Regions from separate parts of the Homo sapiens genome. Here region 2 is linked to region 1. Evidence: promoter capture Hi-C in 16 types of primary human blood cells and fetal thymus (Javierre and others, 2016). All regions are on one chromosome and are shown on one strand. Each heading gives the region's core, a stretch centred on a gene start or on the middle of the fragment in contact. The rest is flanking DNA. Distances are from core to core; before and after follow the strand shown.

Evidence for each region. The method cuts DNA at HindIII sites, captures the fragments that hold promoters and counts their contacts. A CHiCAGO score of 5 or more calls a contact.
Region 2: a fragment that was not itself captured here is called in contact with the fragment with the promoter of UBA6 in region 1 in 1 of 17 cell types (non-activated CD4 T cells); the score reaches 6.7 in non-activated CD4 T cells.

Annotation. Positions count from the first base shown.
Region 1 is chr4:67,699,307-67,702,816 of GRCh38, reverse strand. It overlaps UBA6 (ubiquitin like modifier activating enzyme 6), which reads left to right and starts at 1,662. Exons shown (of 33, transcript NM_018227.6): 1 at 1,662-1,768. The coding sequence starts at 1,698. UBA6-DT (UBA6 divergent transcript) reads right to left here and starts at 1,539. Exons shown (of 2, transcript NR_015439.1): 1 at 1,333-1,539. RefSeq lists silencers at 1,569-1,638, 1,769-1,938. The HindIII fragment of the contact is 4,018 bases long and covers 728-3,510 here.
Region 2 is chr4:70,991,803-70,995,312 of GRCh38, reverse strand. DCK (deoxycytidine kinase) reads right to left here and starts at 1,664. Exons shown (of 7, transcript NM_000788.3): 1 at 1,387-1,664. The coding sequence starts at 1,477. RefSeq lists an enhancer at 1,239-1,418 and a silencer at 1,589-1,928. The HindIII fragment of the contact is 699 bases long and covers 1,331-2,029 here.

The DNA.
Region 1 (3,510 bases), core at 413-2,912:
CTTTTGTATATTAGTTTTGCTGAATGTAAAATCTTTGGCCTACATATTTTTCCCTTAAGTTTCCTCAATATGTCATTCTACTTTCTTATGACATAAAGCCTCACTGTCAAAAAGCTGTGATCGCCTAGTTTTCTTTCCCATTTTACATATGTGACAAAACATTAAAATCTGTTAAATCTGGTTGCTTGTTACATGCCTGAAATAATTCACACCATATTTTATCAAATCTAACATGCCCTCAATTTTAAGATGCATCGTTTTCTGTATTTATTTTTTAAAAATTCATCCTCTATTCATGGATGTTAAAATATGAAGAAGCGTGGGTAATGGCAGGCCATTGTTTTGGCCTAGCCTTCTACACTAGGCCCCATCAGATCAAACCAGAATGGAGTTGCTTGTGCTAAGCACCATGTAATTAAAGTGGATTTTGAAAAAATGAGCCAGTTTTTTTTAAAAAAACAGGAGATTCTAGTTAACCTAGTGGGCATAATAAGGAAGTATGCTCTGTTTTAACCTTTACAAGGAAAGAAACTTTGAAATAATCTGATTTTTGTTCTGTTTCTGCTTTCTTCAATCTTTTTCATTATCTTCAGTCCTGTAGCATTATCTTAGTGCTAGAGCAGAGCCTTGAAAGAATAGAACACAGATCAAGAACATTTTAATGTGGAAAAGGTTCACAACTGGATTGAGGAACACGGATAATGCTATAGGTGAGCAACATAAAGCTTCCAGGTATTTTAAGATGTGCAATTTTGAAGAGAATAGAGGGCACGAAGGATAATACAGTTTTGCCTGGACCCTCATCTCCATATGAGAGGAAAAATTTCTAATTAAAAATATGATACATCACAGAAAATTACATAATACCCAAAGTATATGCTAATTTTAAAAATCCTGCAGATGTTTATTCAAATATACAGTGTTATTTAGTGAAAGACAAATCCTAATGTTATTGTGTCCAACTCATTTTTGCTTTCTAAGAAAGGTGACACGGAAGTAAATGAAAAAGAATTATATGAGAACTTTTTAGATATGTGTTCTGGTAATCTAACAGTGACTAGCTCTATAACCTTGACCAAGTCACTTGCACTGACCGGAAGTTCCTTTCCCTTACCCACAAATTTAAGGGACCAAACTGGATGATCTAACGACATCTATGGCACTAAAAGTCACATGATTCTATTAAATCTGAGGCAGCGCCTCACATGTAGTGGACTCCCAAAATTATTTATTAAATGTATAACATCTTTAAGTGGTATCCCCTCACTGACAATCTGGAGCTATTAGCAGCCTTCAGTTTATTTATAAAATAAAGCTGTTTCCTCTTCTTACCGTTAAGACTCTTTTAAGGATTTGCAACGCTATCCCATCATTTCGCGGGTTACTAGAGTCCTGCATGTTTGGCTGTAGAGCAAGGGTGACGCGTAACTTCTGGACTTTGGTTCCATCTACATCTGCCGGATGCGGATGCCAGTCGCAACAGTAACGCCCCCTTCGGCCACCTGCACCACAGCACGCCATGCGGCCACACCCAAACCGGAAACCAGGACGCCCCTAGGGTTGACGGGAAGGCGCTGCCGGGCTCCTAGCTTCCCCAGGCCCGCCCCCTCTGATGACGTCTCCGCCCGCCCCTTGACCCCCCCACGGTCCCGCCCCTTCCTACCTTCCAGTAGCCGGCGGCGGTGTCTCAGGCGGCAATGGAAGGATCCGAGCCTGTGGCCGCCCATCAGGGGGAAGAGGCGTCCTGTTCTTCCTGGGGGACTGGCAGGTGAGAGGACGAGAAGGGCGAAGGTGAGGGGTCGCGGGTGGGACCCAGGCTCCGGGTTTCTGCTTCTTTCTTTCCGGCGGGCTGGGGGCGCCCGAGAGGCCGCGGGGCCGAGCAGAGCCGGCCCTGGGAGGCGAGGGGCGCGCGCGGAGTGGGTGTGGCGACGTGGGCTAGGGCCTCTGCTGTTGCCGGCTTTCCTGAGGGAAAAGTCCCCTTTCCGCACCTTTGAGGGCTTTCTCAGTTCTGGCTGGGATTCGGGATCCTCCTTCCTCCAAGTCACCAGACTTGGGGGGCTCCGGTCGAGAGCGAGTTCTGGTCTCGGTCACTTGGCGTGAGCTTCCCCGACTGGTGCCAAGCACCTTTCCTCCTTTCCGTAAAAAGAAAGCTAGGAGCGCCACTGTGCACCTCCACTGAGATCCTCTTTTGAAAACTATTACCAGAAGGAACTTGGTAAGAATGAATCAGTAGCAATCTGGACACCCTGAGGCCTTTGTTGACTTCGGAAGAAGGAAAAAAAAAAAGCCAGGAAAAAAAAATACACAAGTTACCCATTCTTATTTCCCACTTGGTTTTGAAGTTCTTCAGGTCTTTCCCGCCCCTGTAAAATTAGGGGGAAAATATTTGTGCTAGGCCTTTACCAATTTCTTGGTTAGTAGTTCCTCTTTCAATCATCTCATAATTAATAAAGCAAGTGGTTACATTCTATCCACCACTGTCAGAATACACCATGCCAAAGATAGAATTGATGGATGTATTATTTTCAGCTGATGTGAGACTTTGTAAACCTGTAGCCTTTTCGCCAGTTTCAGACTGAAGGGATGCTTTCAGTTTCATGGTGTTGTCTGCCATTGCCAACACTGCCAGAGTGGAGGGATATTATGTAATATAACCCGCGCCTTATTTGAAGCGTTTTTGATTGTCTTATAGATCATATTATTTTTACATATTTTTGAAACATTCCAGTGAGGCACAACTTTCTGAAAAGGGCCAGTCACGCCATTAAGTGGCAGAGCTAGTTAGACTGCAGCTGTTCTCGTTTTTATTCAGATTTACCCACCAGGCCTATTGCCCCCGCCATGCAAGGAAAACAGCAAGTGAAAGTGTACTAGGGATAAAATGATAGGAAAGTAGATAATAAAAAACTTTGGCCGGGCGCAGTGGCTCAAACGCTTGCAATCCCAGCGCTTTGGGAGGTCGAAGCAGGCGGGTCGCTTGAGCTCAGGAGTTCTTAGACTAGCCTGGGCAACATGGCGAAACCGCGTCTCTACAAAATACAAAAAAATTAGCTGGGCGTAGGTGATGCACGCCTGTAGTCCCAGCTACTCGGGAGGCTAAGATGAGAGGATCGCTTGAGTCTAGAGAGATCGAGGCTGCAGTGAGCCGAGATCGTGCCACTGCACTCCAGTCTGGGTGACAGAGAGAGACCCTGTCTCAAAAAAAAAGAAAAGAAACAAATTTTGTTAATTTTTATATTTTGTTACAATGCCCAAACAGGGTATATTGTGTATGTGTGTGTTTTTTATTAGGTAGGTGATCTCTTAGAACACAGCTATCTTCTGATTTGCCTTGGTAATTGGAATCAGTTTTTTTAATAGCTATCCGTTTAATTAGCTAGAAGCTGGTATCATTTGATATGTGCCAGTGTTTGGTGAGATAAATGATAACATTTTAATTACCTTTGTTTACAAATTCTTTGGCTTATTTATCAATGCTAGGACTAGAAAGTTGGATTCCAAGCCTGAATT
Region 2 (3,510 bases), core at 431-2,930, 3.3 Mb before region 1:
GCCCTGCCTCAAATTTACTTTTCAGATGGCTTTGTTCAGCCACTTTCTCCTGTCTTTATATATGGTCTTCTTTATTCAGTAAGCAGCTGTCAGAGATTCCATACTAGTAAACATGCACCCTCAAATAACTTACATTGCTAATTATATCATATGGTCTTTCTACTGGTGCTTTAATTCTGGAGCAATGAAATAAGAAGTCCTCTTTGAGAATGCAGTTTTTCTATTCATTTGAATGCTTAAAGCATCTGCTTGCCTGGCCTTTTTCAAGAAGGTACAGTGCTTTGAATGTGGTAAGAATTTTAAAAAATTTGCTGTATGCATGAATGACCAGCACCCAACCTGGAGCTAAAAAAATTTTTTTTTAAATCTATCAAAACAGGAAGTTTCAGGGGTAGGTTTCCTGTGGTTGGAGATACAGAAGAATCGGACGTTGGTGTGTATCTTGCAAAGTGACAGGCATGGCCTAGTCTGCCCCCCATCTGAGTTAACAGAAACGTTAGTGGTCTTTGAATCATAATCCAATGTTTACTTGGATGTGGAGTAAGGGGTGAGGAACTCCATGCTATTAAGATCATTAAAGACCTCTTTGCTTGTACTCGAATGTTTCGAGTTTCGTTAATAATATAGCTAAAACAATGCTTCGCTAATAATATAGCTAAAAAACTGTAAACAACCCTGAGGTCCACAACTAGAAAATGGATAAACGATGGTACATCCATGCAATGGAATACTACTCAGCAATAAAAAGAAACAAACTACAGACACAAGTAACATGAATGAATTTCAAAAGCATTATGCTAAATGAAAGACGCCAGACACAAAAGGCGATATAGCCTATGATTCCATTTATATGGCATTCTGGAAAAGGCAACACTTGCAGGGATAGAAATCAAATCAGTGGGTGCCAGGGAATAGGAAGGGTGGAGGGGGCTGAATACAAAGGAGCAGGTAGGAACTTTCTAAGGTGATGAAAATGTTCTGTATCTCGATCATGGTGATAGCAAAAGGCATAATGTTTGTCAAACCTCATAGAAGAGTACACCTAAAAAGGGTGAATTTAATGTAAGTTACACCTCAAGAAATCTAATACCCTTCCCCCGCTTCCCTTTGCGAGTTCCCAACAAAGAGGGAGCAGAGGTTCAAAGCGCGCCTCACAGAGACCGCAGGCCTGGCGCCCAGTCTGACCCCGGGGACCGCAGTCACCCCGTGGAGCGGGAGGTAAGGGAAGGATGCTCTGGGTGGGAAAGGAAGCCGAGGCCGCGTCCACACCGCCAGGCTGGAGGGAAAGCCCTCACCGAGTTGCTGCAGAGAGATGCGGCGAAGGGAAGCTTCAGCCACTGCCGCGACACCCCAGCCTTGCGTCCCACATTTCCGGAGGCTCCTTACCGATGTTCCCTTCGATGGAGATTTTCTTGATGCGGGTCCCCTCAGAGCTGGCTGAGAAAGACGGGCAGCTTCTCTTGGGCGGGGTGGCCATTCCTTAGTCTTGTGGCGGCCCAGAGCTCGTCCGGCAAAGAGGGCTGGGAGGCGGCCACGGGTGCGCGCACTGGAGCTCGCGGCGCCGCTAAGCCAGATCCTGACCTGCCGGGTCAGCTAGTGAGCTCACCGGCCCGCCGGCGGGTGTCGGGGTTTGACTTTGGCGCGCGGAGGCAGCTGAGGACACTGGCGGGCCTGCGGGGCGGCCCCGCCCTCCTCAAGCCGCGCTCCCTAGCTGCCCCTCGGCCCTCGCCCGCCTCCAGCGCGGGTTCCCGCGTGCGCGCTCCGCACGCCAGGTCACGTGAAGGCCGGGGCGGGGCCGCGCGTGTGGCGGAAGGCCTCTACCCCAAGCAGCCAGGCGCCCGGGCAGGGCGCGGGAAGAGGTTCCGGAGTCGGGTGGGGAGGAAGGGTGGACCCCAGAGGCCTGAGGGCGCTGGAGGGCAGAGGGCGTCACCTGCAGTGGGCCGTGCCAGGCTTTGGAAAACCCGCCTCTCTAGTGGGCCTGTTGGAGATGAACAGACGCGTCTGGACAGAACTGGATAGACTTAAAGCTTTGAACTCATCTGGGGAGAAGGCACTGTGTGGTAGGAAAATCAAATGGATTTACTCTGGCTTCTCAGCCTAGAGGAAGACTATCAGGCGAAGTGCCGTCCTTGGGAATCGCACTGCCCACTTAGAGAGCCAGGCTGTTTTCTTCTATGTGCTTTTCATTAATTAACGAAGTCTAGTGCCAGAAATACCGTCATTAGCCCATTTACCTGCCAGTGGGAAAACAGGCACTGAGAGGCTGCTTGTTCCAAGTGTCAAAGTCAGTAAGTGAAACTGGGATGGGAATTTAGGTAGTCAGATGCCACCCACAGGAGGCCTTTCCAGATCTCCCATACCGCTTTCCATTTGATTTGGATGCACGACCATGCTGTATAGAAGTTAGCACGTTGGGTAGGTAGGTTTCTGTTCAGCTGTTAACTCAGCCTGCCCGACACCTGGCACATAGGTAACAAAATGTACTGTATGTTGAATTTTTGAATGCCTACTCATGTGCCATGTACTCTGCTAGAATACTCATCTAGATGGGACAAATGCAGTGTAGGATTTGTCCCAGCTAGATGAGTGCATTTTTAGTCAGGGTAAAGACCTAATGAGGCAAGAGAATAGGGAATTAGGGTAACCAAGGGTTAAGGCATAAGCAAAAGAACAGCAGGTGCAGCAATTTCTAGGCAAGACTAGGCAGCATACAGGCCACACCTTCACTCCTGTGATTACAAGACAGAAGTTTCCACATCGCCTCTGATTGTCCTCGGCCATCTCCATTTCAGCCTCTGATTGGTCGCAGGCCAATCCTTCATAGGGTGCAACCAATTGGACGACTGTAAAGGGCACCTAGGGATTTACCAAATTCTTTTAGCCTAGTAACCCTTAAGAACACTGCAATTGGGACTCTTGAAGCACTTGGTTCGCTTCAATAAATTTGTGCTTTTGTTACTTCGTTCTTTTGTTGTTTTGTCTTTCGTTGCTTCTTTTGTTGCTTTGTTTCTACGTTTTGTTCAATTCTTTGTTCAACACGCCAAAAACCCAGACAACTCAGTCAAGACTTCCCATCCAGTAACACTAATAAACCGGATATTACCCAGTCTGGAAGTTATCTGGTCCAAATTGTCTACAGAAACCAAAGGCCTTGCTATTCTTTTTTACATTGCAACTATCATCAGACCTGAAATGCATCTAAATGTGTAGCCAGAAGGGGAAAACGGTGACTCCATCCTCAGAAATAAAGAGCAGAAATTAAAATGTGAATCCTCGGGGATCACATTTTCCAGGATTAAACAGCAAGAATCATTCTATGTAACTGCCCTATATTATTCTGTTATGCAATTATTTTGTATATATTACTTTTACTTATCCCTATAGTGATTAATAGCAAGATCCTAGGAATATAAGAGGCCTGAAGAGTTGTCATCAGGTATAGCAAGGAAGTTGGGAGAAAGGTGCTGCGGAAGCTAATAGGTATCACATTTCACAGCCAAGCTTGGGGGA